Linked DNA regions of Homo sapiens: regions 1, 2, 3, 5, 6 and 7 are each linked to region 4. Evidence: promoter capture Hi-C in 16 types of primary human blood cells and fetal thymus (Javierre and others, 2016). All regions are on one chromosome and are shown on one strand. The core of a region is centred on a gene start or on the middle of the fragment in contact, and the rest is flanking DNA. Distances in the headings are between cores, read along the strand shown.

Region 1 (3,967 bases), core at 972-3,471, 140 kb after region 4:
GTATTTTGCTGTCTGATAATGTTAACAGTGTGGGGAATTTATACTACAGCTGTCCCATAAGAAATCTAAAATAAATAGGATGATTCAAACAAATGAAAACATTTTAAAACAACACAAAGTAAATCAAAGTATTTCAATAATGATAAAACAGCTGATAAAACAAATACTGTTTTTGATACTTTAAGGACTAGTATTATATAATCATGATGAAATCGTGATGACTTCATTGAAGGGATTCTCCTAAATATATTCTTACCATCAGGAGATTACTACTTTAATATTAGATTATACTGTACAATTGATTTTAAGTATTATGAATATGTAATTTTCGCAAAGCAAAATCTAGTAACTAAATACTAGGTGGCTCCAGATACTGCCTATTTGTATTATTCTTCTATATAATAATATCTAGGTTTCTTCTATAATATTACATATTAAAATATCTATAGTTATCCTTGGTAAGCTATTCAAGGGTTTTTTGGTTTAGTTGCAATGGCTATTTATCTGTCCTTTGGGAAATTCAAGAGCACAGAAATACCTTTTGGCACATGACATAGTGCAGAATCGTTTTGACCGCAAAAATTCATTAGCATATCCCATTTTCCCACAGAATTCACACTTGAGCAACTCACTGTCCATTTCTTCTAATGTCTCTAAAAAAGAAGGAAACAAAGGAAAAAAAGGTTCCAAAAATTTAATTATGCAAATTTTCTTTAAGTCTATACTTTGGTTGGATACTGCTAGCAAACCAATGGCCCTTTAACTTTTCAATCCACAGCCACTCTGGCAGGGCAAAAGCCTTCAAAACACAACCACTGCTACTAATTCCCTCTTGCTTCTGCATAAAAATTACAAGGAGTTTCTTTCTATATAAATAAGCATAACATTTTAAAAGGTTCATCTTGCTTACAATCCATCTAAAATGTAAAAAAAAATTATTTATAAACACTGGGAGAGAAATGAAGATGAATAACATAGGCATTATCCTCCAGGAGGAACACTTTCAAAAAGCTGAGGGTGGGATATGAATTTTGATAAATTGCACTGTGGAGATACATAGCAGGGAACTCTTAATTCTAACTGGAGAGAATAAAGATGGCTTCAAAATGGTGAAATTGTGATATGTCTGATTTTACAGGAGCATGCAAAATAATTAACTCTCTCGAAGATCTGCAGTATATGATAAAATATATAAAGATGCATATATCAGGAGGCTGAGGCAGAAGAATCGTTTGAGACAAGGAGTTTGAGACCAGTGTGGGCAGCATAGCAAGACCCCATCTCATTCATACATATATATACATACATAAAATTCTTTAAAAAGATGCATATATCTAATTATAAAACAGTTCCTTTTAGTTATATTGCATTAAAATAAAAACTAGGCTTAAAAATCAGTTTCATAATTCCCAACCACTGATGCTTTTTTTCATCATGCTTTTCTTTAACTTAATGGGTGCTCCCTACTAAGTTAGAATGTCCTTCTTCCACCCTACATATGTAACTATCTTCAGGCAGTAACACAAAGCGCAAAGACCCTTCCATGCTAAATCCCCGGGTACTCGGCAGGAGTCACCCATAAGCAAACAACTAAATCTTCATGACCCACAATTTTCTCATCTGTAAAATGGGGTTTATAATACATTTCCCAAAGAATTGAAGTGGCAATTATATGTGTGCCCAAAAGGTAGTAGGCATTAAAAGTGATAGTTCCATTTCCTATTTTCCACATAAGAACTAAAAGGGTAGTATGACATGTAATAGCGCTCAAGAAATACTTTGGTAAAACTTGTTAAATTCTTAAATCAACCACATTTTGCCATTTTCTTGCATCATCATAATTCCTCTGCCAAGTCATATTAAAAAAAGCAACAAAAGCATTTTACTGAAAAGCATTTTACTAACTAAAGCTTTTAGCTGTGAACTCCATATGTGTGCTCTTTCTATGTTACTCATTTAATAAAGACTAAGATAAATACAAGGACTCAGAAATGTAGACATGGGTGGCATGTACTCAGTGAGCTCAGGTACTCACATTACCTCAGTTTTACTGGGGAAGCAGATGGCAAAGTGCTAAATTAAGTGAAGTAGCAAGAACTACTAAAAAAACAAACTGTGAATTAATATTTGACATTGGTGGGGCATCCAAATACATTATCCTGAATAATGAAATCATGAACTGACACGTGACCAGTTTAAGGAAATTCTCAGGACTACCTTCATAAGCAAAAGTCATCAATTTAGTAGCAATGAGGAAGAAACAGTCTCAAAACAAGTAAATTAAAAATTGCCCCTTCCAATGACCTTCCAACGGCCCAGTCAGGAGATCCACCAACACATTCCTGAGACCTGAAAACATAATTCCTAGAAGTACTGTTTTTATTTTGTCATGCTTATAATCTGATCTTACTATAATCTGATCTGACTGAGAAGCCTATAGGGAGACAGAACTTCTCACTCAACCACCACTGCCATTAGTTCCAGCCCTGAAAGAGTCCATTCCTCAGGGTTATTCCAGGAACAGGATATGCTAAAAGCTTTGTTTCAAAGATCTTTTGTTAATTAACATAGCAATGTCCAACACCTGATATTAAGTCAGAATACCTTATGAAGGAGAAGGAAATGTTTTTGTTGGTGACAGAGAGGAAATACCAAACAGAAATGGTTTACAGTTAACCGAACAAAAATAAGAGTAGTATAAGTTTTATTTCTCATAAAGAAGCGAGGGACATTAACAGATTCAAAAATTCTTGTTCTAATGTTCAGTCAGATTTTTAACAAATTTGGTAATATTACCAAGGTCACTCTTTTACATTTATGAATTAGAAAACTGCCAAAACACTTTTTTAAAACTGCTGATTTAGCTAATAAAAATGGGATTCTATGGCAGAGACAGCTGGTAATTCTCCAGCATCCACTCTTTGCTTTTCTCCCATAGTAACAAAACCCTACGAACATGGCCACCCAGATTAAAAACAAGTTTCTGCCCTAGGTGTGGCTGATTTGTAACCAATGGCATATGACTGTAAATGCTCACAAATTCCAGATGGTGCTCTTTCCCCCATCTCATTGGTTAGAATGTGATCATGAAGATCAGCCATCTTGGAAATAAAAGTAACATTCTACAGATGACAGAGACATAAGACCCTGGAGCTTGAGTGCCCAATACTAAGGAACTACCACATAAGCCCTGGACTGATCTTTGGGTTATGTCAGAGAAAATTAAATTCCTATCTTCTTTAATCAAATATTATTCTGGATCTCTACTGAAGTGGCCAAACCTGCTTCCTAATCTAGATCCCCCATTTTCTGGCATGAGGGGAAGTTATTTTTTATTTCCCCCAAAGACCTGAAATCACATGAGGACAGCAGCAAAAAGAGGCAATGAGATGGAAATCATAATCAGTGTGAAGATATACCAAGGAAGACCATAAGCTACTTTGATGAATCACAATCTACTGGTTGGAGACTCTCATTATAGAACCAGTCTAAAGAGAACCACAGTTTATCCTTTATATGCTTACCAGAGGTTTTTTATGTTGAAACTATATATACTACTAAAACCAAAGCCACTAAATAAGTGACCTCACCATTTTACACTATAGTACTTCCTATAAACACTGAAGTACATAGTAACAGAAACATGAAAATTATAAAATTACCTTGGGAAATTAAAACTAGAAAGTATTTAAAATTTTAGCACATTTTATGTAAACATTTCTCCCCTATGAAATATATTATCTCTACATCTTCCTTTCCTTACTCTGATATCATATCCTGCTGATATGATAACATCAGTCCTTTCCTTTGAGAACATCAGTCCTTTCCTTCCTCTTCCTGCCATGACTACAGGTGTCAATTACATGCAAAATTTATACATACATCCTACAGACGGCCATCAAAGTCTCCAAAAACACTCTTTTATTCGTAACACCTTCCTAAAAATCTTCAGTACTATCCACCCACC
Region 2 (3,895 bases), core at 1,278-3,777, 190 kb before region 4:
TATCATAAATAAAAATTTATATTTAGATATCATAAATAAAAATTTATATTTAGATATCATAAATAAAAATTTATATTTATATATCATAAATATATAAAAATTTATATTTATATATCATAAATATATAAAAATTTATATTTATATATCATAAATATATAAAAATTTATATTTATATATCATAAATATATAAAAATTTATATTTATATATCATAAATATATAAAAATTTATATTTATATATCATAAATATATAAAAATTTATATTTATATATCATAAATATATAAAAAATTATATTTATATATCATAAATATATAAAAAATTATATTTATATATCATAAATATATAAAAAATTATATTTATATATCATAAATATATAAAAAATTATATTTATATATCATAAATATATAAAAAATTATGTTTATATATAATAAATATATAAAAAATTATGTTTATATATAATAAATATAAAAATTTGTTTATATATAATAAATATAAAAATTTATGTTTATATATAATAAATATATAAAAATTTATGTTTATATATAATAAATATATAAAAATTTGTTTATATATAATAAATATATAAAAATTTATGTTTATATATAATAAATATATAAAAATTTATGTTTATATATAATAAATATATAAAAATTTATATTTATATATAATAAATATAAATATATATATTTCGATTTCTATCCTTCTGGTGTAATCTGCAAGCCTCATTCGCTACTCTTGATTTTTAGGCTGAAGGACGTGCCTGTCTTTTTGCAGGAAAAGTGAAGTTTATCAGGTCATATGAAATTCAAGTTTGGAAAAATTTGAAAGTACATTGCATGTCAATAAACGCATCTTGGTGTCTGATTCTGCATACATCTGTAGAGAATTTGAAAACAAGCAGTCAATTTAGAACTTCTGCTTGGTCTTCGGAAGCAAAAAGAGGAAATTCAAAAGTAATTTTACACGTCCTTCCACCAGAAGCTGAAAGGATGGCTTTTTCGCGGCTGAATAACGAAAGCCCCCTGCTTCGCCCCGGACTCTGAGCAGCTCAACCTGCGGAAAGGATGTGTAATAAAACGCCTTTCCAGGGAGACAAAAAAAAAAAAGGCCACCCAAAGGAAGGGCAACTCGGGAGTGCCTGGTTTCTACTGCGGTACCCGGGCACTTTGGAAGAAAGTGCGTGCAGATTCAAGCTTTTGAAATGGTTTCAGCTCTGTTCAATTGGGCATAGGCTATTTTTCCTTTTCTGTTTTTTTCTTTAAATACATTATATTCATTCCTCTCAATTTGATAATAATCACTTGAGAATTGCGAATTGACACTTACATATCAAGGACTTTACAAAACCCTCTCCAAAGTGGGGTTTCCGTAGTGTAGTGGTTATCACGTTCGCCTAACACGCGAAAGGTCCCCGGTTCGAAACCGGGCGGAAACACACTAAAAAATCCCTTTTTTTTTTTTTTTTTTTTTCCTTCGCTTGGAAGAAAGCGTGAGATCACGCTTTGTTTTCTTTTGTTGTTTGTTTTGTTTTTTTTTCTGAGGGAAGCCTTAGCTTAATGTATGCCGGTCCTTCAAAAGACATGATAGCAATTTGAGAGTCTGAACTGTAAGTTTTTGTTACTTTATTCGTTCACCAAATGTTTTTATGGAAGCCTTGCCACGTGGAACATGTGTCCCGGGTTTTAAAAAATGAATTTGACTCACCAGCTAACACTGAAAAAATAATGTACAGCCTAGAAGGAAAGATCAAAGTGTAAAAGTGGTTAGTCCTGTCGCCTCCTGAGCATTTTTGTATTATATCACTTGGTTTTTCGTCTGAAGTGGCTGTAAATAATCGTATTAAAAATCTTCTGGTCCAGACGCAGGAAAACCTTTTCCGGTATAAAGCCCACCTTCCTCTAATGTTGCGCATGCCCACTGTGCCCAGCTGCTCCGCTTTCGTGCATCCCAGACTTCTGTCACCAGGTAAGGGCATCTTGGAAGCTGAGCTACAGTTGGCTGGGGCACAAAAAAACCAGGGGGTGCCAAGAGTTTTCAGGTACGTAAGCGGGAAAGGGGTGCCAAGTCTCAGCTAAAAAATCCCCTATGGCAGAGATCCGAGTACACATGCAGCAGTTTCCACCGGTGGGGCCCCGAGGAAGGGGAGGATGATGGGAGAAGACAAGCAACTACAAGCCCCCGCACGCAGTGCGCAGCTGGCTTCAGGAGAGAGGCCCGCGGTGCTGTGCTGCCGGGCCTCGGCGCAGAGCCCCGGCAGAGCGCCAGACGCTGACTGCCGGCACCAGAATGCTCGCGATGAGGAAGACAGGCGGAGCGCTGCGAGCTAGCGAGCCCTCAGCTCTCGTATCCATGACGCCTGCTGCTTCGGGGGACCCCTGGCATGCTGGGGAGTGGGTCTCTGTGGTACATCCTGTACCGCCCTGGCCGGCGCCGGACCCCCATGGCCCCAGAACCTCCCGCACTGCCACGGGAAGACAGAGCCGGACGTGACGCCACCGTGGAAGGAAGGGAGGGGCGGAGCGTGGCTCGGTGACGTCCTCCCAAGATGGCGGAGACAGAGTGAAGAAACTGTGTTCCCCCCTTGGGTTGCTATCGGTGAGTTCCTACTTCACCCCCAGCCCGCCATCCCGGTCTCTCTAGAGCCTGGGCCATCAGAGGGCAGGCTCCTTGGAGTTCCAGCACGGGTCGGGGCGCAGGTGGAAGGCTTGGGCTAGGCAGCCCCGGGGTGGCCTGGGCCACAACCTCTGCTGTGGAAATTCGCGGGAGTGGGAGCTGGGCAGAGGGCAGGGCGGCAGAAGCCGAGGAGGGACTGGCTTTGGTTGTCACTCTCGGATGCCGCCTCGCGTAGAGAGTGGGAAGGGAGAAGGTGTGGCCTCCTTAGCGCGAGTGATAGAACCTTTGACAGCAAGCCATGGCCGGGCGCATTCCCGGCTTTCTGGGCAGCCACCTCTCGTTTTGGAGAAACTGCACTGGGGAAACTAACAGGTTTTGGTGACTTGAGAGCAGTTTTTAAAAACTCGTACTGTTCTGCCCCTATCTGTCCCAAGAGATCATGTCTTAGTGGTTTAAAAAATTTTTTTGTAACATAAGTATGTCTACTGAGCTTGAAAATCTGAGGGTTCAACAGATGTGAAAGCGTCAGGTTTTGCTGTGCTTTTTGCAGGTGGTAGAAGTGTTGCCATTCACCGTCACTTATTGATGTGTCCAAAGGATTGTGTTAGTTGATCAAGGTAACCAAAGATAGAAAGGCACTCATCCCTTCATTCTTAACCATGTATGTTTGATAAGGATTTTCAAGGGGGCTAAAATTGTTTAAGTTATGTCCTCTGTCCCTTCCCTCACTGAACGTTGATGAGAACTTACGGTTACTGATTTACTGTTTCTTTTTGTCTTTTAGATCAAGGGTAAAATTCCATTCTGATATCAAAATGCAGTATTCGCACCACTGTGAGCACCTTTTAGAGAGACTGAACAAACAGCGGGAAGCAGGTTTTCTCTGTGACTGTACCATAGTGATTGGGGAATTCCAGTTTAAAGCTCATAGGAATGTGCTGGCCTCCTTTAGTGAGTATTTTGGTGCGATCTACAGAAGCACTTCTGAGAACAATGTCTTTCTTGATCAGAGTCAGGTGAAGGCTGATGGATTTCAGAAACTGTTGGAGTTTATATACACAGGAACTTTAAATCTTGACAGGTAAAGTACACATTTTATTTTCAGTTATAAAAGCTAGTCAGTAGTCTTCACAGCAAAAGTAGATTTGTATTTTTTCCATTCATTCTCTGAACTCAAATTCTTCACCTATTTATGCACACAATGTTTGTTTTTATAAAGAAATCAGTATCACTGATTTAGGATGAGCAGGCAATATTTTTCATAAGCACAGATAATAAACAGT
Region 3 (3,810 bases), core at 1,122-3,621, 140 kb before region 4:
CAAGTATAAATACTGTAATGCAGATATGTGCACAAATTTTTCACTAGTAGGAGAGGCTAAGTTACTCCACTTGTTTAGCAGTCTGCCTCAAAACCAGAAGCCCAATTTATCTCTGCTGTTAAAAATAATCTTGACCTGAAACTTATCTTTTTGGAATACTTCTAGTTACCTTCAGAATTGGGCTCACTTTCAAAACTGAAGATACTTGGACTAACAGGAAATGAGTTCCTTTCCTTTCCGGAGGAAGTCCTTTCTTTAGCGTCTTTAGAGAAATTATACATTGGGCAAGACCAGGGATTCAAACTTACCTATGTGCCAGAACACATTAGGAAACTGCAGGTAAGCCTCCCCAAATGAGCAGGCTAAGAAGCACCTGTCACTGCCTCTTAAATTGGCTGAAACTGAGAAAATATGAGGTCTCCACAGGCTGGATGTAGAATCATCCATACTAGATTTCCAGCTTCAGACAAGCAATCATTTTTACATTTTGAGGTTTCCACTGTCCGTGAACAACTCTTCAACATTTCATTGTGATTGCTGTTGGATATGTCCTGCCATACTTCTTTCCACTGTGTGATTTGGTGTGTTTCATTTGCAGAAATTGAGTCATAACTCTTTCCATTTAATTTCCACTTTTTATAAGTAGCCCCCTGAAAACTGGACTATTTTGAAGTTAAAGAGTATCATACAAGTGACATGCTGGGAGCCTACATTTTGGTGCCCAGGATTTCCTGTAAGGGGAAGTGTGACCTCTCTCCCTGATTGGAAAAGGGAAATCATGTTGCACCAGCTTCCTGGATCTGCAGGGCTGTGAGGAATACTTGCAAAGCAACAGGATAACTTCATTCAAAGTAGCCATAGTAGGGTGTCTTCATATATTCATCCTTTAAAGAACTGTTTTTTTTTTTTCATGTTCCTGTTGCTGCACTTTTTTTTTTGACAGAGTTTCGCTCTTGTTGCCCAGGCTGGAGTGCAATGGCTCACTGCAACCTCCACCTCCCGGGTTCAAGCGATTCTCCTGCCTCAGCCTCCCAAATAGCTGGGATTATAGGCGCCCACCACCACACCTGGCTAATTTTGTATTTTTAGTAAAGACGGGGTTTTGCCATGTTGGCCAGGCTGGTCTCGAACTCCTGACCTCAGGTGATCCACCTGCCTCGGCCTCCCAAAGTGCCGGGATTATAGGCATAAACCACCGTGTCTGACCTGCTGCACTCTTAATGATGATAAAGTAGGCGTGGGCCACCACATAACCCCAGTCATGCAATGCCATGCACAGCATAGGTAGTTCTCACTATGACACAGGGTGTCTCTTCCTAATTCTCCATTCCTTTGCCCTGTGTTCATAGAACACCTTTCATCAGCTTTTCCTTTGTACCTGTCATGCCACAATCTTAGGGTGAAGTACAAACATTAGATTTTTGCCCAGTGAAGTTGAAAATAGTTATTTTGAATACATTCAAATCCATTCCCTGTGCATTTTGGCTACTTTCACTGAGGCAATATTGGGTTGATAGTTGAGGCAATTATCATTCTGTAGCAACTGCCACAGACAATTAGCTATTAAAAAAGGAGTTAATGATAAATGTAGTTAAATTATTCAAATTATTTTTCCATAAAGTTCTGGTGAAACAAATAAGCACTAGATGTCTGTAGTCTCTTTTCCCTGCATAAATGGAAACTAAGTCTAATGGATTTACTCAAAAATAATTTTGGGTCTTGATGATGGTCCTTTAGACATGCTTTTTCCCTTAACTCAATGCGTAATTTCCCCACTGAAAGTGAAAAAAAAAAAAAAAAAAAAAAAAAAAAAAAATGCATGAGCACCCACAGGTGATTCTGGTTATTATAATTAATTAATCAAGGTATATTATTATGGTACACTCATGTTATTTCAGAGTCTCAAAGAGCTATATATAGAGAACAATCATCTGGAGTACCTGCCCGTATCCTTGGGGTCAATGCCTAACCTAGAAGTTCTTGATTGCCGGCACAATTTGCTTAAGCAACTTCCAGATGCCATTTGCCAAGCACAAGGTGAGGAAACTTAGTAGATTCACAGCCTAGCAGAGTTTGTGGCCAGCATTTCCTATGGCAAATGGCTTCCTTGCTTTGCTAAAGACCTATCTCAGTGTTCAGAGAACTGAGTCTATCCCATTACTTCCTTGCAGGGCTCACTTAGCGACATGGGGGAGGCCAGGTGTCCTGATTAGTATAGCTAAGAGTCTTGCAAAGGCAGTTAAGTCATTTATTAAAATGGAAAGGTAAATAGCGACTGCTAAGAAAATTAGCATTTACCCATACATTTATTACACTACCAACAATAATTTACTGTACACTTACTACATGCCAGAATTTGGAGTTGGGATCCTGCAGTAAATTTCATCTAGGTCACGGAGTCACTTGAGTAAAAGAAAAAGTATTGGCCCAGAGTGGTGAAATTAGCAGGAGACTTTCTTGGAGCTACATAATTGACCTGGAAAACTATATATGATTCCTACTTAAATAGCCAAACATTTTCCACTACACTAAGCCATTCTTTGTCTGTACATTCATCCATCCACTTAATATGCTTTTGCTGAGCACCCACTGGGACCAGATTTTAAATGTTTCTTTTTTTTTTTCTGAATCCTAGGCTTATGCACATGTTTTCAAACTATGGCTATTCTTTTTTTTTTTTTTTTTTTTTTTTTTTTTTAAGACAGAGTCTCGCTCTGTCGCTCAGGCTGGAGTGCAGTGGCGTGATCTCGGCTCCCTGCAAACTCTGCCTCCCGGGTTCACGCTATTCTTCTGCCTCAGCCTCCTGAGTAGCTGGAACTACAGGCGCCCGCCACCACGCCCGGCTAATTTTTTTTTTTTTTTTTTTTTTTTTTTTTTTTTTTTTTTTTTTAGTAGAGACGGGGTTTCACTGTGTTAGCCAGGATGGTCTTGATCTCCTGACCTCGTGATCTGCCCACCTTGGCCTCCCAAAGTGCTGGAATTACAGGCGTGAGCCACCGTGCCTGGCCCAAACTATAGTTATTCTTTAATGAAAAAAGAATGGAGAGAGTGGAAGCTGATGCCTACTCATAAGGCATTCAAAAACTGGGGGCAAGGCCAGGCGCGGTGCTCACGCCTGTAATCTCATCACTTTGGGACGCCGAGGAGGGCAGATCACCTGAGGTTAGGAGTTCAAACCAGCCTGGCCAACATGGTGAAAACCCATCTCTACTAAAAATACAAAATTAGCTGAGTGTGATGGCACGTGCCTGTAATCCCAGCTACTTGGGAGGCTGAGGCAGGAGAATTGCTTGAATCCGGGAGGCAGAGGTTGCAGTGAGCTGAGATTGCACCACTGCACTCTAGCCTGTTAACAGGGCAAGACTCCGTTTTAATAAAAGTTAAAAAATTTAAAAAAAAAAAGAAAAAAAAAATGGAGACAAGGGGTTGTATGCAGTAATCCTTAGTAATGCTCCTGACCATAAATTTTTATCCTGTCCTTGGTCCCTGGAGGAGTGAAATATTCTCAAAATTTTTCAGTGTTTTCTATTTTTCTGTCTCTAATATTTATGGACACTGGCTTCAACAACTTTGAATTGTTATAAAGAAGTTGTAGGCCAGGCGCGGTGGCTCACGCCTGTAATTCCAGCACTTTGGGAGGCCAAGGCAGGCAGATCATGAGGTCAGGAGTTCGAAACCAGCCTAGCCAATACAGTGAAACCCCATCTCTACTAAAAATACAAAAATTAGCTGGGCTTGGTGGTGGGTGCCTGTAATCCCAGCTACTCAGGAGAATGAGGCAGGAGAATCACTTGAACCCGGGAGGCGGAG
Region 4 (3,743 bases), core at 136-2,635:
AAAATTTTAATGGTATAATAAACGCTTACAACCTAACATTAAGTGAAAAAAGCAGCTGCCTTATTGCATATGATCTCAATTTGGGAAACAGGAAAAAATATAAATACAAACACACATGCACACACACACACAAAGTCAGAATACTATAAGAAAATAAACTGAACGGTCACAGTGGCTCACGCCTGTAGTTCCAGTTACTCAGGAGACAGAGACAGGTGGATCGTTTTGAGCCCAGGAGTTCAAGACCCGCCCGGGCAACATAAGGAAACTCCATCTCCACACAAAAAAAGTAAAAATTAGCCAGGTGTGGTGGCTCATGCCTGTAGTTCCAGCTACTCAGGAGGCTGAGGAGGGAGATCAGTTGAGACGAGGAGTTCGGTGATGCAGTGAGCCGAGACTGCGCCACTGCACTCCAGCTTGGGCAATATAGAGCGAAACTCAGCATCAAAAAAAAAAGAACATCTTTCTATTCTGAATTTTCCCAATTTTCTACAATTAAAAACGCTTTAAAGATCTCTATAAAGTCAGTCAAGGGAATTTCTATCTAAGCACTTACCAGCAATTTGAGCTCCTTCTCTTTTGGTCTAGGTGGCTCTAAAATAACAATAAAGGCTACAGTGATTGAAATTCACCAGACTTGAAATAGACTGCAGCCTTCTTCCTTCCCACCTTCTTAGAATCTTTGTCCTATTCATCTTCCTTACGCTTCCCCGGGTTCTCTTACTTCTGGATTCTAACAGTGAGTTGTGAGAAGCAACGCGGAAAACGGAATGGAGACTCCAGCTTGTTTTAAACGAGCTGTATTACCCCGCACAGTGCAGGAGAAAAGATAATTGGCTCAGGTCTCGGCTCTGCCATCTACCACCTGTGGAGCCTTAGATAAGTCAGTTCTTATCTCTGTCACTCAACGGTCTCGGTCTTGTCATCTTTTACATGGAATGTCATGAAATATACAGTACATTGCAGGAACTGCCTCAGGTAAAGACTTCTAGGGTTCAGTAGGTCTCAGTCGATCCCTCTGAGAAAGGCCGCACCCTAAATGCACAGACTCTGACTCTAAGGGGATGGGGTCGGGGAATCTGCATTTTAGTAGCTTCTCAGGTGATTCAGATGCTCAGTCAGGATTGAGAAACCAGGACTCTTCCCAGCCCTCCTGTTCTCTGATCCACTTCTCTGCTTCCTCCACGTCCTAACGATTCTCCAGTTCCCGCACAGCAGGAGCGGAGGGAAGAGGGGAGAGAAGGCACCGCTAAGGACCGCTGGCCCCGCCAGGCGGCCGACCTCCCCATTCCAGGGGCGCCAGCCGGCGGATTACATAACGGGCCTCGGGGCGCGTTCTCGCGAGGTTTCCACCGCCCCCTCCTCGCTCCACGTCAGAGGGAACCGGGCGGAGCGGCCAACATGGCGGAACGCAGGAGACACAAGAAGCGGATCCAGGTAGCAAAGCCGAGCTCTGGGCAGGGGGCTTCGGCGCGCTGGATAGTGGAAGGGGCGGGGAAAGCCCCCTAAAAGGGCGAGCGAAAGCAAGGGCGAGGTGGGGTGGGGTGGGGTGGGGTTCCGCCGCGAGGCAGCTGGCTGCAGGCTGCGCGTTGTGAGGGGCCTGAGGGGGGGCGGTGTTGGCGACGGCGGAGACAGAGACGGAGGTGGTGGTGGAGCAGCAGGGGAAGGAAGGAGGCGCCGCGCTCAGAATCCGGCTGCGGAGGCGCGGCTGTGGGCCTGGAGTTCCTGTGGTCGCGCTGTCCCGGGCCTGAGCTGGAAGGTCAGCCTCCCCTGGGGCGCAGACGCTGACCCTTCCCGGGGCTCCTCCCCTCCCTTCACCCCATCCTCTGGCCTTAGCTGGCCTGAAATTAAGGCCACGGTAATAGGGGTAGCAGGAGGCGGCGGACTGACCTAAAGCAGCTGGTTCTTTGTGCGCATAGACCGTAAGGGGGAATGATCTGGACTTGGTCAGCTGCCTCGGGGCCTAGGCAGGGATCTGCTCATCCAGATGTTCAGTTGCGTTGCCCTTCTTTCCCTTCAATATTATTAACTTAATAGTCCACTTGAAGCTTGCCGGCTTTTTTCCGGGCGACGTGGTGTAAACAACCACAACCTCGTTGGTGCTGCAACGAGCTGGTGGAGCCCAGAAACCTTTCACATGCCAGTGTGTCATCCTCGTAGTAACGTACATAACATCTCCCCCTAATTCCACATGCGTGTCATTTGTGCATTTCTTCCTTGCGATTTTCCCTGGTTCTTGTTCTTTGCCAAGAGGATTAATTATGTAGAACATCTTGGACTCAGGATATTTATTAGTCGTCTCATCAGCTGATGTGCTGAGAAACCTTCATAAGCCCTCAAATTGATCACATGTAGTAAATTGTTACTATAATCATAAATTGTTACATTCATCATTGCCTTTCTGTTCCTTACTATTTCATTGCTTAGAATGATTTTTTCTTTCTTCCATTTTATCCCTTCTTTTTTTTTTTAAGTTTATCGATTTATTGGCGTACAATACAGATGTTTTGAGCTATGCAAGTTAAAATTCTTCTGTAAACTTTTTAAGTGCTGTGAAAAAGACACACATGATCAGTAAATTTGGAATTTTGGAATTTGGCAGAAATAAAGTAGTTCCGAACAGGGTGCAGAAGGGAATTAGAAAGAGGCAGATTTCGAGTTCAGACAGATAAGACTAGGTCTTAAGATCAGTAGAAGTTTCTAATTATACTGTTCTTAATCTTTCAAGAGTTAGTGTTATTCCTCTGACGTGGGTATACAGTATTTTATTAGATTGTATATTGAAATTGTCTGTCAGATTTGTACTTACAGAACTCCTTAGATTTACACTTGACAGTACAATTTTATGCCCTTCAATACACATTGTTTTACAATTCCAGTTGCTCTTTAATATTGTTGTAAGGGCTATATAATTCACCTTTTGAATAGCTGCTCTTATTTAGTTGTGATCTTATATTAAACAGAGGCTGTGGAGTAATGTGACAGTGGCAGAGAGCTAAAACTTGAGCCAAACTGCCTGTTTGTACCCCACCTCCACCAATTATTGGCTGAGTAACTTTGAGCAAGTTAATTTTTACCTCCCTGTCTGCATCGGTAAGAAAACATATTTACCTCAAAAAAAAAAAAAGCAAGAAAAAAGAAAAACTTTAAGATTGCTGTGAAAATAATAGGTGAGTCAACTTATTTATTAAAAGTTATTAAAAGTGTTTGGCACGCAGCCCCTCCCTTCTATTCTACTCCTTACCCAGGATGAAGGATTTAGATTGGATTGTTATTTTATTTTTTGTTAACTACTCTTTGATATGCTGAAGAAAGATTAACAACCCTCTATTCAGTAAACTATTAGGTTGGGAGTTATGTAGAGTATAGCTGTTTACTTTCTATTATTTGAGGATTGATTATTAAAATCTACTGGGCATACTGCAAAATTAAGTGACATTTATTTTTCTGTCCTTGAAATTTTCTACATGGCTGTATAAAATGTTTGTGAGAGATCTTAGAGTACTACTTTCATGCAGCCTAACACACTTATGAAAATATACTAGCCTAGAAAGTACCTCAGTTTTATCATTCCAGATAATCAGAAACTATAATACATCACTTGTGATAAAAAGATCAAATGTAATGAAAAGTTCAGAGTTTAACTTACAAAAAAGATCCTGTTGTAGAATTTTTAGGCAAAAGGTCTGTAATACCAACTGAGTTTCTGTCATTTGTTGCTTGATGTTTTATGTTTAGAAAGA
Region 5 (3,745 bases), core at 189-2,688, 230 kb after region 4:
TTACAAGCCAGAAGGGATTGGGATCCTATCTTCAGCCTCCTTAAACTGAGTAACAGTCAGCCAAGAATTATTATTATTATTATTATTATTTTAGACAGAGTCTCGCTCTGTCGCCCAGGCTGGAGTACAGTGGCACGATCTCGGCTCACTGCAACCTCTGCCTCCTGGGTTCATGTGATTATCTTGCCTCAGCCTCAAAAGTAGCTGGGATTACAGGCATGCACCACCATGCCCTGCTAATTTTGTATTTTTAGTAGAGGCGGGATTTCACTATGTTGACCAGACTGGTCTCGAACTCCTGACCTCATGATCCACCCACCTCAGCCTCCCAAAGTGTTGGGATTACAGGCGTGAGCCACCACGCCCAGCAAGAATTTTTTTTTGAGAGGGAGTCTTGCTTTGTCACCCAGGCTGGAGTGCAGTGGCACCATCTCGGCTCACTGCAAGCTCCACCTCCTGGGTTCACGCCATTCTCCTGCCTCAGCCTCCCCAGTAACTGGGACTACAGGCACCCGCCACCACACCCAGCTAATATTTGTATTTTTAGTAGAGACGGGGTTTCACCGTATTAGCCAGGATGTTCTCGATCTCCTGACCTTGTGATCCACCCACCTCGGCCTCCCAAAGTGCTGGGATTACAGGCATGGGCCACCAAGCCCGGCCCATTAAGAATTTTTTTTTAAGGCAGGGTCTCACTCTCTTGCCCAGGCTGGAGTGGAATGGCACGATCATGGCTCACTGCAACCTCAACCTCCCTGGGCTCAGGTGACCCTCCCACTTCAGTGCATCCCACCACACATGGCTAATTTTTGTATTTTTTGTACAGATGGGGCTTCACCATGCTGCCCAGGCTGCTCTTGAACTCCTGAGCTCAAGTCATCTCCCATCTTGGCCTCCCAAAGTGCTAGGATTACAGGCATGAGCCACCACGCCCAACCTAGCCAACGATTTTGTATGTAGCAAAACTAAGTTTCATAAATAAAGGAGAAATAAAATCATTTTCAGACAAACAAATGCTTAGGGAACTTGTCACTACCAGACCAGCCCAACAAGAAATGCTAAAAGCTGTTCTAAATCCTGAAACAAAAGGCTGATATGCACTAGAGTAGAACCTCTTGATGGCATAAAACTCATGGGGCATATAAAACAATAACACAGTGAATAAAACAAAGTATCTAGGTAACAAATAACATGATGACTGGAACAGTACCTCACATCTCTCTTTTTTTTTTTGAGATGGAGTCTCACTCTGGCGCCAGGCTAGAGTACATTGGCACAATCTCGGCTTACCGCAACCTCTGACTCCCTGGTTCAAGCAATTTTCTGCCTCAGCCTCCCGAGTAGCTTGGATTACAGGTGCCTGCCACCATGCTCAGCTAATTTTTGTATTTTTAGTGGAGACGGGGTTTCCCCATGTTGGCCAGGATGGTCTCCATCTCTTGACCTCGTGATCTGCCCGCCTCAGCCTCCCAAAGTGCTGGGATTGCAGGCATGGCCTTTTTGGGTTTTTTTGTTTTTTGCAGGGAGGGGACAGGGTCTTGCTCTGTCACCTGGGCTGGAGTGCAGTGGTACAATCTTGGCTCACTGTAACCTCCACCTCCTGGGCTCAAGTGGGCTTCCCACCTCAGCCTCCTGAGTAGCTGGGACTATAGGTGTGCACCATCACACCCAGTTAAGTTTGTGTGTGTGTGTGTGTGTGTGTGTGTGTGTGTGTGTATTTTTTGTAGAGATGGGGTTTCGCCATGTTGCCCAGGCTGCTCTGGAATTCCTGGGCTCAAGTAATTCTTCCACCTCAGCTTCCCAAAGTGCTAGCATTATAGGTGTGAGCCACCACCATACCCAGCCTCAAATCTCAATATTAATGTTGAATGTAAACAGCCTAAATGCTTCACTTAAAAGATACAGATTGGCAGAATGGGTCTAAAAATTGCAAACCAAATATCTGTTGTCTTCAAGGGACTTATATAACACATAAAGATTCAGATAAACTCAAGGTAAAGGAGTGGATAAAGATATTCCATGCAAATGGAAACCCAAAGCAAGCAGGAGTAGCTATTCTTCTATCAGATAAGATAGACTTTAAAGCAACAACAGCCAGGTGTGGCAGTTCACACCTGCAATCTCAGCCCTTTGGGAGGCTGAGGCAGGAGGATCCCTTGAACCCAGGAGTTCAAGACCAGCCTAGGCAACACAGCAAGACCCTGTCTCTATGAAAAAATTTAAAAATTAGCCTGGTGTGGTGGTGTGTGCCTGCAATCCCAGCTAATGAGGAGGCTGAAGTGGGACAATCACTTGTGTGTCGTAGGTTCAGGCTGCAGTGAGCTGTGATCATCCCACTCTACTCCTGCCTGAGCAATAAAGCCAGACCCTGTCTCAATAAATAAATAAGTAAATAGCAACAACAGTAAAAAAAAAAAAAAAAAGGACAAAGAAGATAATTATATAATGATAAAAGGATCAATCCAACAAGAAGATATTACAATCCTAAATTCATATGTACCAATACTGGAGCTCTAAGATTCATAAAACATTTACTACTGGACCTAAGAAATGAGATAGACAGCAACACAATGATAGTGGGGCACTTCAACACTCCACTCGCAGCATTAGACAGATCATCAAGACAGAAAGTCGGCAAAGAAAAAAATGGATTTAAAACTACACTCTAGAACAAATGGACCTAACGGATATTTACAGAACATTCTACCAGAGAACTGCAGGATAAACATTCTTCTCTTCAGCACGTGGAACATTTTCCAAGACAGATCATATGATAGGCCACAAAATAAGTCTCAGTAAATTTTTAAAAAACTGAAATTTTATCAAGTATCTTCTCAGACCACAGTGGAATAAAACTAGAAATCAACTACAAAAGGAACCCTCAGAACCACACAAATACATGGAAATTAAACAATCTGCTCCTGAATGATTTTTGGGGTAACAATAAAATCAAAATTGAATTTTAAAAATTCTCTAAGGTTAATGATAACAGTGATACTAAGTTATCAAGCCCTCTGGGTTAAGCAAAAGCAGTGCTAAGAGGAAAGCTTATAGCACTAAATGCCTACATCAAAAAGTCTGAAAGATCACAAATTGAAAGATCACAAAAAGTCTGAAAGATCACAACCTAATGTTACACCTCAAGGAGCTGGAGAAACAAGAACAAATTAAACCAAAAGCTAGCAGAAGAAAAGAAATAACACAGATCAGAGCAGAAATTGAAACAAAAATAAACAACACAAAACATCAATGAAACAAAAATCTGGTTCTTTGAAAAGATAAACAAAATTTATAAACCATTAGCTAGATTAATCAAGAAAAGAAGAGAGAAGATTCAAATAAACTCAATTGGAAATGAAACAGAAATGACAACCGATGCCGCAGAAACAAAATATCATTCTGGACTACTATGAACACCTCTATGCACACAAACTAGAAAATCTAGAGGGAATAGATACATTCCTGGAAACATACAACCCTTCTAGATTAAATCAGGAAGAAACAGAAACCCTGAACAGATCAGTAACAAGCAGTGAGATTGAATCAGTAATTTAAAAATTGTCGGCCAGGTGCTATGGCTCACGCCTGTAACCCCAGCATATTGGGAGGCCAAGGTGGGTGGATCGCCCAAGCTCAGGAGTTCAAGACCAACCTGGGCAACATGGTGAAACCCCATCTCTACCAAAAATACAGAAAATTAGCCAGGCTTACTGGCAGATGCCTGTGGTCCCAGCTACTTGGGAGG
Region 6 (3,885 bases), core at 937-3,436, 170 kb before region 4:
GAGAAGTAGGATGTAAATCTGAGACAACATTGGGCTGGATAATTGGAGCATGATGATCCTTTAGAAGGCAGGTACAGTATAATAGTGGGAGCAGAAACCAGATGGATATGGTTGTAGTAGATATTAAGAAGACATGATGAATGATAATACTATAGAAAAGTTTGAAAAGGAGAACGTTTAAGACAAATGATCATTATTTTCCCAAATATCTGAAAAGCACATACTGCTTTATTTTTTGCTTTCAAATTTGAAACATTGTAAAATGATGAGTATAATATGATCTGCAACAGTGTAAGGTGAAGCAGTCTTTGAACTGGGTCTTAAAGGATGATTGCTAAGAGAAAAATGAAACAATACATACAATATGATTGCAGATTTGCTCTTTATAATTTAGATGTGCAGAGAAAATGAGAGTTTTCCTATGGAACTTATATGTCCTTCCTCTTGAGCCCATACCCAGTGGTAAGTCTGGAAAAAATTAACTTTTAGTTTTAGCCAGTTTAAAACCTAGTCTGATATAAAGGGGATAGAATTTATATCTTAAGGGATTTTAAGGTAATGCTTAATCTTTTGGAGAAATGCTGTTTTATTTCTGCCTTTTGTCTTTCTAAAATGGTGTCCAGACATATCATACAAGACAGGGGCATCAGGGTAGACAGAGTCTTTGTGGAGCCCTTCCATTCTCTGGGTTAATTATACTGACCTCTGTTGTGGCAGGCAGCAGCTTATAAAATAAGTAACAAGTCTTTCCTAGTCTGGTCAGAGTCCAGTTGTCCTTGGCTGAACTGACTTCATCTCAGTTCTTTTGGATGCGGAAAACTCTCTGAGGCCCTATCACCTGCAACTCTGCCTCAAGCAGCAGTGTAGGTCAGGTTACAGGTTTACCACCTGCACCCCACTGTAAGCTCAAGGTAAGCCTACTTGCTTCTCCTTCAGCCATCTTCTGAATCTCCCTTTGGGGGAATATGGGAACTTGTGGGTCTCTTCTATAGCACACAGGAAGAGACAGTAGCCTGGGAAATCAAACTCTTTCCAGAATCTGGTAGACATCCTACTACCCAGCATGTGAGGAATACTACAAAGCAATGAAAAGTGAACAGACTACTGCTACATGAAACAACATAAATGAATCATACTAATATAATGTTGAACAAAAGAAGCCAGACACAAAGAGAGTGTATACTGTATGCTTCCATTTATATAAAGGTCAAGAACAGGCAAAACTACTCTGTGGGGTTAGAAGTCAGGATAGTGGTTATGAGAGGAGAGTGGGAGAGCTGGCAGCACTGGCTTGTTGGGAAAGGGGTATGTATATGTTTATATATATTTGCCTGTATTTATGAAATTGTTAGTAACACCTGTCTGTAACACGTAAATAGGATAGGTAGAATACTTTTTCAACTTCTGAACTTTGAAACCCTTTGAAAGTCACTGGTAATTTTCTACCACAAACCTTTTTATTAATACTACTTAATAACTTTCAGTTAGATACCTACAATGACCTTTACTTGTACGCTATTTCACTACTTGGTTATATTTTCATTATAAAAAGAAATTTAGTCTAGTTCCTTGGTCTCTTTCTCCAGGGTTAGAATTTTAGTCTCTATATTGTAAAATTTCTTTTAAAAAATTACCCTACTCAGTTTTTCACAATAGACAGTTATACAAAGTTTAATACAGTCATTATCTTTTACACATTTGAAAAAAGTAACTTGTTTTAATTTATAAAAGAAAATAGGCTATAGAATATTAATCTCTGTGAAACAATAAGACAAGTGTATGAAAATTATTTTACAGCTACTTTTTCATGGCTGTTGACCTACTGGAACAAGAGCAAAACCTGCATTAGATGAGTGGTCATAAGATTCTCCATAAGTTGATGTCCAATAATAATGCTTTTTAAGGCCATTGGAGACTTCTGCAAGATATACACGTCCATCTACCACAAATGGCTCCACATCTGTATTGTCTGGTTTTAGACAACCCATTTGAATTAAGTCTGAATATGCCTAGGATTTTTAGGAAAAAAACTATATCATTAAGAAAAAATGTATTCAATTTACAGTGCTTACGGAAATTTAAATATTCAAATTAGCTGTGCTAATTTGTAGTTTAAAATAAAATATTCTGAATAACATTGCTGAATTTTAATATTTTCCAGGTATTGTAAATAGATTTTTATTCATTTAATTACACAGAATGAAATTATAATATTGCAAAACTTATTTCTAACTTTTAATGTATTAGACATGTTTTGTCATTTTGTGACTCCTAGAGTTGATTTTCTATACTACCAATTTTGTGGACCAAAGCTCCTATGGTCAAAATTTTCAAGTCCCACAGATGTTCATAAATTGGAATAGGTAGGGGGGCTCGGTAGGAGGCCTATTGTATACATTCTCAAAAATCTGCTGATAGCTAGTTACCCATTCCTCAGAAAAATTAAGGGAATCCCAGATTTGGACATACAATTATATAGAGTTCATGACCCCCCTGAATCTAATCTACAGATTTAGGCTAAAACAGACAATTCCATAGTATTGGATGCGGACCTATTAATTATTTCTTCATTGTAGAATTTTTATACTTTTTTTTTTTTTTTGAGACAGAGTCTTGCTCTGTCGCCAAGCTGGAGTGCAGTGGCACGATCTCGGCTCACTGCAACCCCTGCCTCCTGGGTTCAAGAGATTCTCCTGCCTCAGCCTCCCGAATAGCTGGGACTACAGGCCCAGCGCACCACCACACCCAGCTAATTTTTGTACTTTTAGTAGAGATGGGGTTTCACCATGTTGGCCAGGATGGTCTCAATCTCTTGACCTCGTGATCCCCCCGCCTTAGCCTCCCAAAGTGCTGGGATTACAGGCATGAGCCACGATCCTTAGTATCTATGTAACAGAGTCATACAAATACGTTGAACTGGTTTGTCAGTAAGGTTGGCAATATGGAGAAAGATGGAAATTTAGACATTAAAAGATTTAAAAGTCAAGTTGGTTTTTGCTTTAGCTTGTCATTCATCATTAGTTCCAGTTCCAGACTCAACTTATTCAGCTACTGATGTGTAGAACCTAAAGAATTATGGATGTTTTTCTAAAAGTAAGGGTTGGTTTTTTTGGGAGGGTGGTTTAGACAACACTCTATGTTTTATTACTCTTTTTAGTGGTGGAATTTTTGTTAGTCCTTTTGCAAATTTTGAGAATTTTAACATCTACTTTTTCCCCCTCGTTCTTTCCAAATGAAAACTGTTACCATTATTTCTGTTTTGAAAGTAGTATCAAAGGCTGTCTGTATTTATGTGAGCAACATGCCAAATATTTTGATAGCTTGTACTCTATCTCTCCCATTCCATATTTTGGTATAATTATTAGGGAGCAGATCAGAAATTTTGCTACATCTGATCAATAATTATGATTTTTCTTAACCTTAGAGGAATTAGAACTGTGTCATTCAGTGATGTGTAATACTAATACATAGTTTTAATATCTTTGGTTATTTGAACCACCAAACTCTCTAGTAGTTAATTTTAAGACTTATGTTAATTATCAAAACTGCAGTGTCTCACTGTGTAACCATTTCTGAGGCACCTGTAAATAATATCTGATGTTACAGAGATGATCCCAGAAAAAGCCTTCAGTGAAGGAAAAAACTTAAAACTTACTATACACGTAGCCTCATCAAATTTGTTTCCCCAAATGTAGATATGAGAGAAAGTGAGATTTGTTTTCATTGATTGTGAAAGTGCAACAAGTCCTTCTCCCTCTATGTTGTTGCTGACTACTGACAACCTGAAACCAATAATTCCACAAGGAAAGAATACAAAAATTAGCAACATTTATTACAAACACTTTCTTGTGTAGTCTTAGCATTATTCTTCAGTATGTTGTAATG
Region 7 (3,628 bases), core at 740-3,239, 210 kb before region 4:
TCACCTCTGAGAATAAATATTCCGAGCACGCTCTGTGTCCCAATTTCCTTTTTTTTTTTGAGACAAAGTCTCTCTCTGTTGCCCAGGCCAGAGTGCAGTGTGGTGTAATTGCCTCACTGCAACCCCCACCTCCTGGGTTCAAGCGATTCTCCTGCCTCAGCCTCCCAAGCAGCTGGGACTACATGCATGTGCCACCATGCCTGGCTAATTTTTTTGTATTTTTAGTAGAAACAGGGTTTCACCATGTTGGCCAGGCTGGTCTCGAACTCCTGACCTCAAGTAATCTACCCACCTCGGCCTCCCAAAGTGCTAGGATTATAGGCGTGAGCCACTGCGCCTGGCCCCCAGCTTCCTAGTTTTGGGGCCTACATCCCCGAATAGCACAGGGCTGTAAACAAGATTTGTTCTGCCCCAGAATGACAGCCCCTGTGCCTTTCCTATTTAATATTACAAATAATCACAAACCATGTCCATGGTATTTGGTAGTTGCAAAGGGTCTCAAATAGGAGAAAATTTACTTGCAAATATAGCCTCTGAAAGCTGCATGTCCTGTCTTTACAATGCCATCTGTCATTGTATCCAGGGAAGAGGGGTACAAATTGGGAGAAGAGCTGGTCCCAGAAGTCTCTGAGGCATGCCTCCTGTGTTGTAGAGAACATTTCCTTCTAGGACAGAAACCACGCTAACCTCTCTTCTAGGACAGTGCCACAATACAATTATTTGGTAAGATAGCAATCATATAGCAGTCATGCCAATTTTCCTGCATCAGTTAAGGTACTTTTGAGTGAAGCAACAAAACCCCTGACGCTAACTGGCTAAAACAATCAAGGTGATTCATCAGCTCATGTATTTGAAAAGTCGAAAGGCAGGGCAAGCTCACACATTTTGGAAAGTCCAAAGGCAGAGCTCCACCTCTCTTTCTCTGTGTTTCCCTGGGCTTTGCCCTTCTTTGTGAGTTGACTCTGTCCTCAAACTGGCCTCCCTCTTAGTTGCAAGTGACTGATAGGAGCAACACTAGTTACTAACGTCTTCATTCCCATTAAAGGGGAGAAAACTCTTACTTCACTCAGCCATTAAACTGAAGTTCAGCACTTTGTTCTGATGAAGCCATCCCAGAACCAATCATGATGGCAAGAGAGGGGATTAGAACCATCCTTGGATACAGGCAAGAGTCAATCCATCCTACCTATGATGCATGGCTGCAACTGAATGCAGGAGGAGGGTGTGATGCAGGAGAGGCACCACTATGTATGTATTCAGCCTCTGCATTGATACCCTTGACCCCCGTGACTTAATACTACACACACACACACACAACTCTGAGAAACAGATTCTGTGTTTTTAGCCATTATCTCTCTCCCTGCCATCTTTACCTCCTGCTTTATCAAAACTTTTGGCAGGGAAAGCAAGGCAGGAAAGAAGATGAGGAAAGATAAGACAGAGAAGATATAATGTGTCCTTTATTTTAGTAGTAGAAGGACTCTGGAAACGATTGAATGATTCAATCTGCATAGCTACTCAAGGTTTGCAGCTGTGGCCAGATCTAGTCCTGTTGACAACCAGATATACATAGTGATCAAGATAAATTCTATTTTGGGAAATTCCAGAAGAGAAAGTAACATAGGTAGATTACCCAGAGGTTCTATACAAGTCTGGACAATTCTCCTTCAAACAAAATACTACCCTTTGGGTTAGTGATGCACCCTTAGTAATTAAGTAAAGGAACAATCTAAAAACATAAAAAAATTTGTGCATAGTTATTCACGATAGCAGTAAAAAAATTGAAAACAAGTTAAATATTCATCTGTAGGTGAAGTGTTACATAGATTATGATACATCCATTAAATGGAACATTAGGCAACAATATTAAATAATGGTTCTGAAGGCTCTGTAATAACATGGAATAATATTTATAATTTATTACTAAATAAAAAAGCAGAATTTGACATATAATTGTCTAAAATATATATATCAGGTATAAAAAGAGACAGGTATAAAATATATACATCAGGTACAAAGAGAGACTGGAAAGAAATGTACCAAATAATGACCTAAATTTTAATTTTGTAACTGAAAAACATTAGAAAGCACTATTAATTACAGATATCTACTTAGCATTTGCCTCTGTGCTGGTGAAATCATAGTTACAATTAGCTGGTCTGTTCTCTGCCCCAACAGCACTCCATCATGCATTCAACAAACAATTATTGAGCACCTGTTATGTACTAGGCACCTGGGATCTGTCAATGAACTCAATGACTTGGGTTCTGCCCCTATCCTTATAACCCAGTGAAGAACACAGATAAGCAAATAATTTATTGCAAATTAGGAAAACATGTTATAAAGGTAATCAACAGAAGATCATAAGAGGAGGGGTAACCTGCTTCAAAAGGGGGTCAGAGAGGATTCTGAGGAGGTGATATCTAAGTTAAGACTTGAGGAGGAGAGAAGGGGCCAGGAACTACAAGTGCAATTTAAGCAGAGAACCCAGGATGAGAGTTTGGTACAAAGGAGGCTGGTGTGGCTGAAGCACAGTGCAAGAAAAGAAGAGGGTGTATTAGTTTGTTTTCACACTGCTGGTAAAGACATACCCGAGACTGGGAAGAAAAAGGGATTTTATTGGACTTACAGTTCCACCTGGCTGTGGATGACTCAGAATCATGGTGGGAGGCAAAAGTCACTTCTTACATGGCGGCAGCAAGAGAAAATGAGAGAAGAAGCAAAAGTGGAAACCCCTGATAAACCCATCAGATCTCGTGAGACTTATTCACTATCACGAGAATAGCATGGGAAAGACTGGCCCACATGATTCAATTACCTCCCCCTGGGTCTCTCCCAAAACACATAGGAATTCTGGGCGATACAATTCAAGTTGAGATTTGGGTGGGGACACAGAGGGGTAAGCAGGGGGCCAGATTATACAAAGCCTTGATAAGAATTTTGGATTTTATTCCAAGTGCAACATGAAGTCACTAAAGTGTTGTGAAGAGAAAAAACATGGCTCAGTTAGCCTTTTAATAAGATCACTCTAGTTCCGTTGTGAAGAATGAATTGGTAATGGGTGTGAGGCAAGATAAGAAGTAGAAAGACCTGTCAGGTCTTTGTAGAAGATGGTGAACTGGGCTGGGGCAGTGGCTAACACCTGTAATCCCAGCACTTTGGGAGGCCAAGGCAGGTGGATCACCTGAGGTCAGGAGTTCAAGACCAGCCTGGCCAACGTGGTGAAACCCCATCTCTACTAAAAATACAAAAATTGCTGGGCGTTGTGGCACGTGCCTGTAATCCCAGTTCCTTGGGAGGCTGAGGCAGGAGAATCACTTGAACCTGGGAGGTGGAGGTTGCAGTAAGCCAAAATCACACCATTGCACTCCAGCCTGGGCAACAGAACAAGACTCTCTCTCCAAAAAAAAAAAAAAAAAAAAAAAAAGATAGTGAACTAGATTAAGGTAGTAGAAATGAAGCCAAAGTGGGAGGATCACTTGAGGCCAAGAGTTCAAGACCAGCCTGGGCAATATAGCAAGCTCCTGACTCTCAAAAAAATTATTTTAAAAATTAGGCTGGCGGTGCACATCTGTAGTCCCTCTATTTCTCACCTTTTTTTATGATATTGTCACATTAATTTTGTAAC

The links. Contacts are between HindIII fragments. The CHiCAGO score rates a contact against its expected background, and 5 or more counts as called.
Region 1: a contact is called between a fragment that was not itself captured here and the fragment with the promoter of SEC62 in region 4, in 1 of 17 cell types (total B cells). The highest score is 5.7, in total B cells.
Region 2: a contact is called between the fragment with the promoter of MYNN here and the fragment with the promoter of SEC62 in region 4, in 11 of 17 cell types (naive B cells, total B cells, total CD8 T cells and 8 more). The highest score is 13.5, in naive B cells.
Region 3: a contact is called between a fragment that was not itself captured here and the fragment with the promoter of SEC62 in region 4, in 3 of 17 cell types (total B cells, naive B cells and monocytes). The highest score is 11.7, in total B cells.
Region 5: a fragment that was not itself captured here is called in contact with the fragment with the promoter of SEC62 in region 4 in 4 of 17 cell types (neutrophils, total CD4 T cells, fetal thymus and 1 more); the score reaches 6.5 in neutrophils.
Region 6: a fragment that was not itself captured here is called in contact with the fragment with the promoter of SEC62 in region 4 in 4 of 17 cell types (naive B cells, total B cells, naive CD8 T cells and 1 more); the score reaches 13.3 in naive B cells.
Region 7: a contact is called between a fragment that was not itself captured here and the fragment with the promoter of SEC62 in region 4, in 5 of 17 cell types (total CD8 T cells, naive CD8 T cells, total B cells and 2 more). The highest score is 7.4, in total CD8 T cells.

Annotation. Positions count from the first base shown.
Region 1 is chr3:170,106,294-170,110,260 of GRCh38, forward strand. It overlaps PHC3 (polyhomeotic homolog 3), which reads right to left. Exons shown (of 15, transcript NM_024947.4): 12 at 539-653. All of the region lies in intron 2 of LOC105374209 (a long non-coding RNA gene), which reads left to right. Among named protein-coding and RNA genes, the nearest start is that of GPR160, 70 kb to the left of the region's middle. The HindIII fragment of the contact is 627 bases long and covers 1,909-2,535 here.
Region 2 is chr3:169,770,869-169,774,763 of GRCh38, forward strand. It overlaps MYNN (myoneurin), which reads left to right and starts at 2,528. Exons shown (of 8, transcript NM_018657.5): 1 at 2,528-2,594; 2 at 3,397-3,693. The coding sequence starts at 3,428. It overlaps TRV-AAC1-1 (tRNA-Val (anticodon AAC) 1-1), which reads left to right and starts at 1,362; the gene lies at 1,362-1,434. RefSeq lists enhancers at 1,078-1,177, 2,068-2,617, 2,191-2,694, 2,333-2,627. The HindIII fragment of the contact is 7,916 bases long and covers 1,191-3,895 here.
Region 3 is chr3:169,828,594-169,832,403 of GRCh38, forward strand. It overlaps LRRIQ4 (leucine rich repeats and IQ motif containing 4), which reads left to right. Exons shown (of 6, transcript NM_001080460.3): 3 at 166-339; 4 at 1,899-2,037. Among named protein-coding and RNA genes, the nearest start is that of LRRC34, 18 kb to the left of the region's middle. The HindIII fragment of the contact is 8,323 bases long and covers 1-3,810 here.
Region 4 is chr3:169,965,422-169,969,164 of GRCh38, forward strand. It overlaps SEC62 (SEC62 preprotein translocation factor), which reads left to right and starts at 1,386. Exons shown (of 8, transcript NM_003262.4): 1 at 1,386-1,437. The coding sequence starts at 1,402. It also overlaps the pseudogene FHL1P1. RefSeq lists enhancers at 1,065-1,504, 3,061-3,593. The HindIII fragment of the contact is 8,040 bases long and covers 1-2,046 here.
Region 5 is chr3:170,191,393-170,195,137 of GRCh38, forward strand. No RefSeq gene overlaps it. Among named protein-coding and RNA genes, the nearest start is that of PHC3, 12 kb to the left of the region's middle. The HindIII fragment of the contact is 3,214 bases long and covers 1-3,045 here.
Region 6 is chr3:169,791,830-169,795,714 of GRCh38, forward strand. It overlaps LRRC34 (leucine rich repeat containing 34), which reads right to left. Exons shown (of 11, transcript NM_001172779.2): 10 at 3,656-3,782; 11 at 1,174-2,009. The coding sequence ends at 1,806. Among named protein-coding and RNA genes, the nearest start is that of LRRIQ4, 19 kb to the right of the region's middle. RefSeq lists an enhancer at 2,456-2,600 and a cis regulatory region at 2,528. The HindIII fragment of the contact is 5,168 bases long and covers 1-3,885 here.
Region 7 is chr3:169,754,095-169,757,722 of GRCh38, forward strand. No RefSeq gene overlaps it. Among named protein-coding and RNA genes, the nearest start is that of ACTRT3, 14 kb to the right of the region's middle. The HindIII fragment of the contact is 5,302 bases long and covers 1-3,628 here.